Regions from separate parts of the Homo sapiens genome. Here region 1 is linked to region 2. Evidence: promoter capture Hi-C in 16 types of primary human blood cells and fetal thymus (Javierre and others, 2016). All regions are on one chromosome and are shown on one strand. The core of a region is centred on a gene start or on the middle of the fragment in contact, and the rest is flanking DNA. Distances in the headings are between cores, read along the strand shown.

What was found. Contacts are between HindIII fragments. The CHiCAGO score rates a contact against its expected background, and 5 or more counts as called.
Region 1: a fragment that was not itself captured here is called in contact with the fragment with the promoter of AGTR1 in region 2 in 1 of 17 cell types (megakaryocytes); the score reaches 7.8 in megakaryocytes.

Annotation. Positions count from the first base shown.
Region 1 is chr3:148,378,010-148,385,167 of GRCh38, reverse strand. The region is part of intron 4 of LINC02046 (long intergenic non-protein coding RNA 2046); the gene reads right to left. It overlaps LOC105374147 (a long non-coding RNA gene), which reads left to right. Exons shown (of 4, transcript XR_924566.2): 4 at 299-1,326. Among named protein-coding and RNA genes, the nearest start is that of LINC02046, 100 kb to the right of the region's middle. The HindIII fragment of the contact is 323 bases long and covers 3,177-3,499 here.
Region 2 is chr3:148,694,388-148,701,110 of GRCh38, reverse strand. AGTR1 (angiotensin II receptor type 1) reads right to left here and starts at 3,208. Exons shown (of 3, transcript NM_000685.5): 1 at 2,984-3,208. It also overlaps the pseudogene RPL38P1. The HindIII fragment of the contact is 4,344 bases long and covers 1,415-5,758 here.

The sequences.
Region 1 (7,158 bases), core at 2,089-4,588, 320 kb after region 2:
CTCAACTATATTTGTACCAGTACATTAGCTTCATAAAAGCTGCCATTCTTTTCTGTTTTGATTATTGCCATATTCAAAAAGACTACAATAGTGCCTGAGAAACATTGCAAATTCTTAATAAATGCTTGTTCAGTAAATTAATATCAACATTTAAAATCTAATGGTCTTTTGCTATATAATTCCACTCCTAAAAGTTTACCCAAAGGATGTAAACATGTGTCTTAGTCTGTTTTGTGCTATTATAACAGACTGTCACAAACTGGGTAGTTTATAAAAAACAAAAATTCATTTCTCACAGTTCTGGATGCTGGGAAGTGTAAGATCAAGATGGTGGCAGGTTCGACTGGTGAGAGTTGCATTCTCCAGATGGAAGAAACATTGTGTCCTCATCTGGTGGAAGGTGGAAGGGTAAGCTACCAAGCACTCTGCAAAGATCCTTTAAAAGGGTCTTAATCCCATTCATGAGGGACGAACCCTCATGACCTAATCACCTCTTACAGACTCTACCTCTTAATACTTTCACATTGGCAACACCTGATTTTGGAGGTAATATATTCAAACCCATAGCAACAAGTATGCAAAATAGAAATCAAGTATATACAGATTTTACTTTGTCTATTAAAGTGTGAGAAAAACAATATGAATGCTCAACAATCAGTTACTGGTTAACTATATTATGGTCTCTACAAGTAGTGAAATATTATATAGTTTTAAAAATATATATCTATATTTTTTAACATGAAATAATGTCCATGACACATTACTGAGTGCAAGAAAAGCAGTTTGCAAATGTTCCATTAGATCTGATTTTTATTTTTTCAAAAGGAAGTTACTATAGGTGCATACTTATCTAGACAGAGCCTGCTAATTATATACATCAAAATAGTAAGAGTGGAATATCCTCTACCCCTTTTTTTCTTTTCCCCTCCTGAATAATTCAGTCCAAAACCCATTAGGCAGGGTGTCTATAAAGGTAAGGAAATGACACCAGACAGTAGTTGCAATCCCTCCACAATTCTCACTTCCAAAGCAAACAAAACAAAACAAAACAAACAACAACATTCTTGACTAGTACTTCTTATTTTTCCAGGCTTATTTATCCTGGTTCCCTGATCCTCAAAATTTTTGTGATGTATAATCCAGTGATTGTTCTGCCTGACATCTCTGCCTCTCCCAAATATTCTTCTTTCCTTTCTTATTAGCCTAAATTCCATCACTTTCTAACATACACCCTCAGCTTCCTCTTCTCTCCCTTTCTAAGCAATCATTCTGTTTTCTTGGGAAATACTAGCAAAAAGCAATCCCTACGTTGGTAAGTTATGTCAGGTAATGGTAACAGCTATGGAGAAAAATAAAGTGTGGATGTAATTTTATATAGCATTTATTGTGGCACTATTGATAATAGCAAAGACTTGGAACCAACCCAAATGCTCATTAATAATAGATTGGATAAAGAAAACATGGCACATATACACCATGGAATACTATGCAGCCATAAAAAAGAATGAGTTCATGTCTTTTGCAGGGACGTGGATGAAGCTGGAAACCATCATTCTCAGCAAACTATTACAAGAACAGAAAACCAAGCACCACATCTTCTCACTTATAAGTGGGAGTTGAACAATGAGAACACATGGACATAGGGAGGGGAACATCACACACCGGGGCCTGTCAGATGGTGGGGAGCTGGGGGAGGGATAACATTAGGAGAAATACCTAGTGTAGATGACAGGTTGATGGGTGCAGCAAACCACCATGGCACGTGTATACCTATGGAACAAAACTGCACGTTTTGCACATGTACCGCAGAACTTAATAACAATAAGAAGAAGAACAGTACTGTGGCTGGAGCAGGATACTGTTGTGGGGGATGGGGAGTGAAGCAATAGTAAAAGATGATCTCAGAGAATTACAGGTGGCCAGACATATAGGGCCTTAAGTTACTACCTAAAATCCTAACCTCTCTTAACATTTTGACATATTTTCTTCTAGTTTTGTTACTTATCTAAACGTTTCATATAGTTGATATTATATCACCTATCTTATTTTCTTGCACTAAGCCTTTTTTATAACATTACCCCTTCAGCAATTTTTCCAATGGCACAACACTTCCAACATATTTTAAATTACTGCATAATATATTATCATGTATACATACGCAATGTCATTACTACGTACTGGTCATTGAAATTATTCACAGGCAGAAAGAAGATAAGGAGTAACAGTCTAATGATTCTGCAACTCAGCATCAGGCATCCTTATTTCGACTCTCTCCTGACTCTGTAGAACAGTTCTTGCCTCATTTGCAAGACTGCGTACACCTTCCCTATTCCTTTTTTCTTTCTTTTTAAAGAAAAATCTAGCCCATTACAGCACCCATATCTTGATAAGGTTCTTGTTTTCTTGTTTCTGGGGCTGAAAACTCTGCAGTTCTTGGATGCAGTTTCTATAAAAATAAATCACTCATTTCTCTAGACTTATTTCTTAGACAAAATAAAGATGTTACATGGACTTGTTATATATTAATACAGTATTACACAAGTCTATGATAAAAAGTATATTACCACATAGCCAACTTTCAATTTTTCTATTATGAAGTGCCAATATGATGTTTGGAGTAAAACAAGAAAGATGCATGGCTTTTGTAACTTACAAATAATTTAACTCACCTAAACAATGAGAGAAATATGCTATATTGAGGACCTTATTAGTTCATTATGATTCAAGAATTTTTAAAACAATGCCTGGGTCCTTTGCACCACACAGCTGGAATATGGCTGGAGGTGCTCTGAATCATGGAGAATCCAGAAAGAGAAGTATAGAATAAAGATTGATAAGGAATACACCAAGCAGATGTTTTATTTCTTCCTTTTGGGGATAATTCTAGAGATTATCACAATATAGTCTGTGGGAGGTGGAGAGAGAACAGGTAACTGGGATAACCCTGAAGTAGCTGGGAAACTCCATGTCTTTAGCACAAAGTTCTGTCAATAAAACCAAACACTGGCTTTCAGTTATAAAGACCCTGCTAGGTCAGCATCTTCCGCACTGCCTTATTGAATTGGGATTTAGTAACATAACTTGGATCTTAATCCCAAAAGTGATCAAAAGATCTGCATCATCATATCAGCCTTTACTAAGTATTAGGGGCATATTGGATGTGATGCTGAAAAGCTTCTTTCTGGTTCCTAAGGATCTTGGTGCTTTAGTGAGATAAACTAGTTATTGCTACTTGGTTTTAAAAATGGCCATGGATATTAGTAATGTACTTAACGATTACTTAAATAGCATAACAAAGGGAGCTGAATTTTCTCTGACCATAACCTGCCTCCTGCTATCTTTGCTGTGTTTGTATGTATGTTTGTGTGAGGGGGACATTTGAAAAGCACAATACTGTGAATATATAGTATGTTCACTTCAAACTTTAATTCAGAAAACGAAACCTCAAGGAGAAGAAACATTTGAAACCCAGATAAATGCCATTTTTGTCTTTCAAGCTTATGGAAAAGTTTCCTCCCTAAATCTTCCCCAATGCATCCAGATTATGGCTTCCGGTGGAGCTTCCTAATCACACAGTAGGGAAGATACATTAATGGAAGTCAGAGTAGGGTATTGAATGGACTAATGGAAGCTTTTTAAGAATTCCAAGTACTCTTCATATTAGAACCTTTGTCATAAAGGTGACAATATTAACAATAATAATCCTCTCTAACAAAAGACTAATATCAGGTCTGGCTCCATAAGAGCCACTGGTTCCCCTGTGCTCCGTCCGAGGATGCCCTGATTTCCATTTCTAGTCCTGAGCACATATTGTTCAATTTAATAACCTAAATTTTCACGAGTAAAACAGATCTTCAGAATGAATTCAGTAATTAGCTTCCCCGTTAGGGGGCTCATTTAATTTCAAAGCTAATGCTATCCACGTTTCCGTTTCTAATTAATCCAAATATAGCAATGCTATAGTAACCAGACAACATGTTCTTTGAAGAGCTGAAGCTATGACATTGTCATGACATCAGCAGACTTTCATTAGTGATATGATTTTAGAACACACTTTAAAACAAATGGAATCTTTTCTTGTCTATTTTCTTGACTTACTGGTTTTGTTTTGTGATTTTAAAATGTTTGAAATATATGCAACCTCTTCCAGTCTGATTTCTTAAGAAGTTTTTAGCTATTTATAAACAAGATAAATGCTTTCATAAGATTCAGAATAGAAGAATAGAGGTTGAGATTATTTTGAGATCAATGTCCTTGAGAAATTTAAGACAGCTATGGAAAGTTTCCTTGAGAAGTATTAGAAAGAAATATATAACTACCTGGCAGCATAAATAATCAGATTCCATTTGATTAGAGGATTTGGCATATGTGAAATTATGTAATGCTAGAATCCTGCCTTTAGCTCTTTCCAGGAATATTTATAGATATTTATAATTTGTATATTTTTGTGTTATATGTAGATGCACATATATGTGTACATATATATCCATATTTGAAGCTATAGTTATTCTTCCCTTAAAAATATCATTAAATGGAATATGGCATTGGCCTGTTTCCTGTTCAGTCATAAGGAGGATTATTTAAATGTGGTTAACTGCATGTCACATTTTCAAATTACATTGTCAAGGTTTTTCTACAGGAAGGATGAAATTAGAGATTTACCAACAGGTAAACATATTAATATAACTATACAACGATATATTATATATGTTCATACGTAGGAAGCAAAATGAAATAAATAAATAATAATAGACTGGTTAGCTGAAGGAGAGTCAAAGTTGTTCTAATCATTTATTTGGAGGTCAATCTGGCAGTTTTGTCTGGAAAAAGTCTGATCAGTTTACAGAAACAATAGGCTTGAGACAACCCCAAAAAAAGTGTAAGAACTATCTGATCAAAAGGATCACAAACAGAGAAAAATGAAAAGAAGCAATCAGTGAGCGATCCAAGGCCTACTGCCATCAAAATTACTGTTGAGAACAATGAGATAAATTGGATCCTCCCTGAGTGGTTGGAATTATGATTAGGACAGCTTTCTAAGAATGATTTTTAAATGGTTTGGATGAGGTTTTTAAGTGAGAATGAGACATTAACAGTTTTTAAAACCTTCAAGAAAAATGGTCAAGCTGTAAGAATGTTTGACCTCTGCTTCCTAGAACCAAAGCAAAGACAGGCTGTTTCATAAGAACAGAGCACCACCTTGTGTTAGTAAGTTATTACACCTCCTTGGGACACCTAAGGGAGGTTCTTTCCATCGTATTAAGTGAGAGCCTGTCAGTAATGCTCTTGAGTACAACAGGCAAGTGTCATAGCTTCCTACCATTTTACGCTCTAAGCCTTATGTAGTGTCTGTGTTTGTGTTCCTAGGAAGATAGAGAAAATGATGTAGAGAGGTGATGAATCGGACAAAACAAAAAATACTTTTTTGTATTTTTAATATGAATGCTTTTATCTCAGGAAGGAATTTATAAACTAAATTCATAGCACTGATACCACATTGTTTTTGCATTTAACACATCATATTCATTGCTTCTTAACATGAACTAGGTTAAGTACCAAATCTCAATGAAGCAATTTTGAATTTAAAATAATTTAGAAGTGCATTATTTCTGGAGTCTTCAAATAATTGTTAAGGAACGATGAAAGATCTAAAAATCTTAAGATGAAAGTAAAATCCCCTTAGATTTTTCTAGTAAAGACACAACACTTATAAAGTAAGAAGAAACATTAGTCGAATAGCATTAAAAATCTTCACTTTCCTATAATTGCTGCCCTAGAAATTTTATCTTTTACATAAAGAGAAACTTAAAGCCATGCAACAAATGTAAATATCTTGTTCATTCTTCAAAATTAAACTCAAATCTTAACGAACAGTCTTCTGTGGTCACTAGTGTTCTTGTGGCACTTGATTTGTAAAATTAAAACTTGTTTTGTATTAAAATGGTTTTTGCTCATGTTTCATCGCCTCTAGCATATCTTCAGCTCTTTGGCTATAATGTACTGCCCTCAGCCTTTTTTGTGACCCCAAACTATCTAGAAGAGTTATTGTCCTATGAAACTTTCTGTGATGATAAAAATGTTTTCTGAACTATCCAATACGGTAATCACTGGTCACATGTGGCTATAGAGCAATTGAAATGTGGCTAGTGTGACTGAGGGACAAATTTTAATTTTATTTTTTTTGAGACACAGTCTTGCTCTGTCACCCAGGCGGGAGTGCGGTGGTGTGATCTCGACTCCCAGGCTGCAGATCCATGGCAACCTCTGCCTCCCATGCTCAAGTTCAAGCGATTCTCATCTCTCAGCTTCCTGGGTATCTGGAACTACAGGCATGCACCACCACGTCTGGCTAATTTTTGTATTTTTAATAGAGACAGGATTTCCCCATGTTGGCCAGACCGGTCTTGAACTCCTAGCCTCAAGTGATCTGACCGCCTTGGCCTCACAAAGTGGTGGGATTACAGGTGTGAGCCACCGTGCCTAGCGTGATTTTTAAATATTAATTAATATAAATTTAAATTTAAATAGTCTCATGTGTCTAGTGGCTACTGTATGGACAAGATGGACCTAAAAATACCTTAGAAAAATATATATTCAATGAATAAATGTCAAATTATTAGAACATTATGTGTTAAATTATTTCTACTTTTTGTTGTAGGAAATAATTACAATTCTCAGCTTCATGTTTTGTGTCTTATCTCAAATAAAGCTTGAGAATTCTGTAACTCATTCACATAAGAATTTTTTATAACCTAAATTATTGAGATAGTTTTGCTTCCTTCCTATACTCACCTTCTGGCCTTTATTCTCATATAATTTTTTAAGTTTTGCCTCACAATTCTGCATAAATTCTGAAAAGCAATAAATTTAATTATTTGAACAACATAGGAGAGTTTTTAAGTATATATGTAAGTGAACTTGAAATCTATACGAGTAGATTTAAATTTCAGCACTATCTTGTTCAAATGTCAAAAGTAAAGTCACAGAGGAACCCCTTATCTCATTAAGTCCTTCTCTCCCTCCATCCTGACCAATGGCTTAGAATAATATGACATCCTGAAAAACTTTTCTGGATGGTACCCTGCAAGTGTATAGGCATATAGAAATATTTTGCATTCAACTCCCAAATTATTTTCATTTAATTTACTCATAAAATAT
Region 2 (6,723 bases), core at 1,959-4,458:
ACCTTAAGTCCCTATAGATATTCCTTGATTTAAGATGGCTTTATATATTAAGCTATTAAAAAGTTGATTTTTAGAAGCTAAAGTTCATATTATGAATAAAACAAAATGTAAAGTGATAGCTAAATTTAGGATACAAATCGATCAAATTTACTGTTGCTTATCAGAGATTGAGTATACTGCTTTAACAAGCAGCTACAGTGAAAAGAAACACAAACCACATAATCCAATGATCTTAGGCAATTTTGAAAAAGAAACATTAGGAGAATTTTGAAGGAAACTAATAGCATTTTCCAATCATCACGTGTTGGAAAGCTGATTTGTCAGTTTGCTAGATAACATGGGAGAAAAGTGTTCCTAAGCTGGGCTTGGACACTTGGTCACATTGTGTTGCTCTGGCTCCATATTTGTTTATTGACACAGCATATCTTCAAAACAACGTTTTAATCTTTACAACACTTGGACTGACTTCAAACTTCTAAACACAATTCTTAATTTGGTAGCCTACTTGGGAGACTCTTTGGCATTCTCCAGTCATGACTGACCAGAAAAAGGGCTAGGTAAACTAATAAGCATGCGGCTAGAGGGCAGGAGCTCGCATTAAGCAGCCAAAACACCTAAATGTGAGGGGTCACTATTTTTGTCCCTGTAACAAATTCGAAAGCAAAATACAGCAACTCTCAGTTATCTGCTTGAAAGGACACTGTGGCAGCACAGATAAAATGACAGCAGACATGCATCATGCATTTAAACTATGAGTTTTAAATTCCTTCTCAGCTAAGCATTTTACCTGGGCTTTGGGTAAGTAGCAGAGTAAACTTTTCTTCCTTATTTTCCCTCTAGCATAGGGGAAAATTAGTCATTAGTATTAATTAGTCATAATTGAAATAATAACAGCAGTCGTAAGTAGCAGCAGGAACAAAAAACCAAAACAAAATTATATACACAAATACTCACACAACTCTGATCCCAAACTAGAAAGAAGAAAAAGAAAAGTGAGAAACCTGAACAACCCACAAATCTGCCCTTTTCTGAATACTGACCCACGATAAGAGAGAGAAAGACTGAAGCTTAGAATGCTGTGGGACAGCAGCATTGCCGCAGCACCTGTGACTGAAAGACATTTTGCAAATCGCAAGGAAGACAAGTCTTCCATTGGCATCAGTGGAACCGGTGGAAGAAAACCAATTTTATTCTGAGTTGGATGATGGAAGAGTTGATTCAGTTTAAGGTCAAAGAAGAGCAGAACCAGAAATCAAGGCCTCAGGATGGGAACAAAGAACAATGAAGTCAGGGGGAAAAAAGGTGGCGGGGAGAGAGAGTGGGTAACAGACTTGAAACTAAGAATCACAAAACTTAAGCAAATGTTGAGACCTAGCAATTATGATGGGCAGTTTCTATAACCTAGCCTTAAGCTTAGACTTTTATTTTAAAGCAATAACCAAAACAAAAGAAATTAAGGAATTATATCACTGGAGGGAACCTTATGGGCAGAGACTTGAGGTTCAGAGTTGTGAAATAATGCTCTTACTATCACACAGCAAGTTAAGTGGGAGTCTCCATTTCCCTTCTCCCCATGCTTTCCTGCCCCTGCACTGTCAGGAAGGGTGGTGGAGAGGAAGGAGAAGGTACCAGGGCACCCGGGAATACATCACAGCCTGAGGACAGGTTATGCAGGTGGGGCCTTTATAGCTAGGGAAACACCGGAGAAGACAAGGGAAGTATGGCAGTTTCTTCCTTAGAGAAGACTTATAAGGGGGTTAAAGCATATGCTATGTGAAATAAACACCTGGAGATCCAAAACCCTCAGGTGGTAACTAATAATAAGAGAATCATGTTGGGATGCAGCATCTTCAGCGGGAAGCACAAGTTGCTCAACAAAGTAATAAAATAGATCAATAGGGTGCCAAATTTCTTGCCTCTATTACTTTCTCTTCTCAGAATGACACAGGAAATAAATGTAGCCAAGTCCCAAATCTGATCCCAGTACCCAAACTTTCATTAAAAGAGGGCTCCTGAAGGGGGGGAGTAGGTTTTTAATACTTAACGAGGCTATCAGCAAACAAAGAGAAGAGGCCCAGGTGGGCTCAATAGCCAGGTCACAAATGGTTGCCCAAAGAAAAAAACGGTGCAGAAGGAGACGCTTTGGGGAAGAATTGCTGAGGTCTTCGGGAGACTATAGCAGGCTGGCACTATGGAGATGTTTACCTGGACATTTAAGAAAATTGGAGGATGGAGTTGGGTGTCGGGCAGTGGCCTGCCAGAGGCTCTGTTTAGTCCTGGAAGCAGGAGACCTTTTGCTAAAATTCTGTCTCAGTTACACACATGCATTGGCTAAGGCTGTAGGGATTGGGGTGTGGAGACATCTTGCTTCTCCTTCCTCAGTTTGATTATTCAAAGGACATCTGGGAACCCTGAGGGTGGGAGAGTTTGGCCAAGGTTGGAGCGATGTCCCGTGTCTAGGACCCACCGCTATGGTTTGCAGGGAGAGAGCTAAAGGGACGTGAGCAGTGCAGGGACATTGACTGGGAAGCAGAGGGCGTGGATGGAGACACTCTTAACTTCACCTCAAAAGTAGCACAACTTTTAAACGAACGCCTTGCAGAGTCATACCGGCTTCCCGCTCAGATGATGGCTAAAATACAAGAGTTAACTAAAAGCCTCAGGAAGAAAGTTTATTGAATTGCATCTTATTTCTGTAGATTTCTTCCTTGCACTCGGAAGAGTTTGGTTAAAATGGATTGAGAATTTCGAGGCACGTGGCAAACAAACCTACCTTGTTCCCTCCCATTCCAGAAGCCCCTCACCTGATTTGGGAAAGTGTGGCCAGCTCCAGGGGCAGGCGCTGACCAGAACTACGGTCGCTCTTTCCTTGGTCCCCGAGAGCTTCCCAGTATAGAGCCAGCAGTTAGGACACCGTGACATGAAACTTAGCACCCCGCCCTTGAAGTCCCCCAAGCATGCCTGGCGGTCCGCGCGGACTCACCCGCGCCCCGGGCGCTGCGTCACGTCCCGCCGAGGGCCGGCTGCGCTGGTGCGGGTCTCCCGCCCGCCGCCTCGGCGTCCCGGCTGTGCGCCCTCACTCGCTGGGTCCGCTCCAGCCGCTCCCCATCGATCACCGCCGCGGCCCGGCAGAGCTGCTAGCGGCGCGCCGGTCCAGACGTCCTGTCACTCGCTGCTGCCTGGGGTCCTGGCTGTCAGGCGCTGGAATCATTGGCGAGGAGGCAGCTCCGAATTTATAGTGAGGGGCGTTGCTGCTTCTTGGGTTCCGGGGACGAGGCTCTGTTTTGCATTCCCTCCTCCTCCGCCCCGCCCCGGGAGACCCTCCCGGCCCAACCTCCTCCCTCTCGGGATATTGACGGCAGCAAGGATGATGCCACAGTCGTCCCGTGTCAACTATCAGATCAGCGTTCACCTGGTCCCGAACCCCGCCTAGCGAGGGGTCGTGAGGGAGAGCGAGCTGGGGGTACAGGAGTATCATTTCCTGCGGAGATTCGTGTTCTTCAACATTTTTTTTTTCTGAACTTGGAAAACTTTTAAGGACGAATTAGAGAACTTCTTTCTCTTTCCTATGAGTAACTCGAACTTTGGTAATACAGTTGTGGATCATAGATTACATGGATTAATTCCAGGGTTATGAAATTCAAGGGTGGACACTCATTTGTTCCTATTGGACATGCTACCCAAGTTGCATTTTAAAAATGTATTTTAAAAACCCAATAAATATTTAAAGAAGAAATAATATCAATTCTTCACAAACTCTTCCAAAAAATAGAAGAGTAAGGATGATCTCCCAACTCATGCTATGAGGCCAGTATCACCCTGATAACAAAACCAGATAAAGACATCACGAGACTACAGATCAATATTTCTTAAGAGTATAGATAAAAATTCTCAACAAAATGTAGGCAAATTGAATCCAATAACATATGAAAGGGACTATACACCATGGTCAAGTGAGGTTGATGCCAGAAAGCAAGATTAGATTAGTTTACCAAAAATCAATTAATGTTAGATAGGTGAGTAGGGTGACTGTAGTTTACAGTAATCTATTGTATATTTCAGAGTAGCTAGGAGAAAATAACTTGAATGTTTCTAGCATGAAGAAAAGACAAATATTTAAGGTGATGGATATGCCAATTGCACTGATTTGATCTTTATATGAATGCATTAAATTATTGCATGTACCTAAAAAGTCCTGTCACTCGCTGCTGCCTGGGGTCCTGGCTGTCAGGCGCTGGAATCATCGGCGAGGAGGCAGCTCCGAATTTATAGTGAGGGGCATTAAATTATTGCATGTACCTAAAAAGTGTACATCTATTGTGTATCAATAAAAATAAATTTAAAGAAGTAAAAAATGGACAAAGCCTACATGATTGTCTAAAAAAATTTTTAAAAACTATTGGACAAAATTCAACACTTTTTCATGCTAACACTCAACAAACTAGGAATAGGAACTTCCTCAAACTGTGAAGTTTATTTATGAAAAACTTAACTAATATCACACATAATAACGGAAGACAACGTTTTTATGTCTAAGATCAGGAACAAGACAAAATGTCTAGTCTTCCCATTTCTATTTAACTTTGTACTAAAGGTTCTAGTGAGGGCAATTGGACAAGAAAAAAAGATAAATGGCATCCAGATTAGAAAGAAAGTAAAACAATTTCTATTTGTAGATGACATGATCTTGTATTAAAAAGCCCTAAGGAATCAATTAATTAACTATTAGAACTAAGAAACAAGTTGAGCAAGTTTTTAGAATACAAGATCAATATACAAAAATCAGTTGTATTTCTATACACTAGCAATAAACAATCAACAAATGGAATTAAGAAAACAATTCCACTGTTGGCTTCTCACCACTTGCTGTGTGGGTCTGTGTCCTCTCCCTGCCTCACATGCTGCCATGCCTCAAAAAGTTAAGGAGATCAAGGACTTTCTGCTTACAGCCAGGTGAAAAGATGCCAGATCTGTCAAGGTCAAGAGAAATAAGGATAATGTGAAGTTTAAAGTTTGATGCAGCAGATACCTTCATACATTAGTCATCATAGACAAAGAGAAGGCAGAGAAACTGAAGCAGTTCTGGCACCCTGGTTTGTTAGAGAAGGAGATGAAATCAGACACACTGATTTGAACTGTGTTAAAAATTTAAAAATTCAAAGATAAAAACAATTTTACTTACTATAGATCAAAAGAGTAAAAATACTAAGAAATGACCTGGTGTAGTGGCTCACTCCTGTAATCTCAGCACTTTGGGAGGCCGAGGTGGGTGAATCACAAGGTCAGGGATTCGAGACCAGGCTGGCCAACATCGTGAAACCCTGTCTCTACTAAAAATGCAAAAGAAAAAAAAAAAAAAAAAGCCAGGCGTGGTGGTGCATGCCTGTAGTTCCAGCTACTCAGGAGGAGGAGGCTGAGGCAGAAGAATCGCTTGAACCCAGGAGGTAGAGGTTGCTGTGAGCTGAGATTGTGCCACTGCACTCCAGCCTGGGTGACAGAGTGAGACTCCATCTCAAAACAAACCAACCAACCAACAAAACAAAACAAAACAAAAAAAACCCTAAGAAATAAATTTAACAAAAGGATCTAAAACTTGTAGTCTGAAAACAAACAAAAAGAATTGTTGAAATAAGGTAGACCTAAATAAATGGAATGACATTCCATGTTCTTGGATTGAAAGATTTAATATCGTTACAATGGCATTAATCTTCAAATGATCTACAGGTTAAACAAAATCTCTATCAAAACCCAGCAAGCTTTTATTGCAGAAATGAATGGAGTTATCCTAAAAACATGTAGCAGTGCGAGGGGCCCAGAATAGTCAAGACAATTCTGAAAAAGAACAAACTTACCAATTTCAAAATTTACTGCAAAATTACAATAAACAAGACAATGTGGTACTGGCATAGCAATAGATAGAAAGATCAATGGAACAGAATTGTGTCCACAAACTAAACCCTTACATTTATGAGCCACTAGATTTTGAAAAGGGTTGAAAAAATGCAGAATGAGTAATCTTTATTACAAATGGTACTGGAATAATTGGATATCTGCATGCAGAAGAATGAAGTTGGACTCCTTATAATACCACATGTAAAAATTAAGTCAAAATGGATCATAGACCCAAGCTTAAGAGAAAAATTATAAAACTAAATAGAAAACGTAGGAGTAAACCTTTGTTACCTTGGGTTATGCAAAGCCATCTTAGATACAACTCCAAAAGCATAAGAAATACAAGAAAAAGTAGGTAAATTAATTTGATTTCATCAATATTAACAGCATCTATACTTCCAAGGGTATCAAGAAAGTGAAAAGAAAAAGCCAAGAATGTGCAAAGATATTTGCAAATTATATACCTGATAAGGACTTGTGTATAGAACATATAAAGATAATAAAGCACACACAAAGATAATAAAAACACCATTAAAAATGGTCAAAGGATCTTAATATACATTTCTCTAAAGAAGGTAGACAAACACATAAAAAAACTCAACATTATTAGCCAGCAGGAAAATGCAACTCAAAGGAACAATTAGTTATGATTTTAGGCCTACTAGGATAGCTATAATCAAAAAGTCAGATAGTAACAAGTGTTGTCCAGAATGTGGAGAAATTGGATCCCTCATATATTGTTGGTGGGAATATAAAATAGTGCAGCCATTTTGGAAAACAGTGGCAATTCTTCAAAATGCTAAGCATAGATAGAGTTACCATATGGCTCAG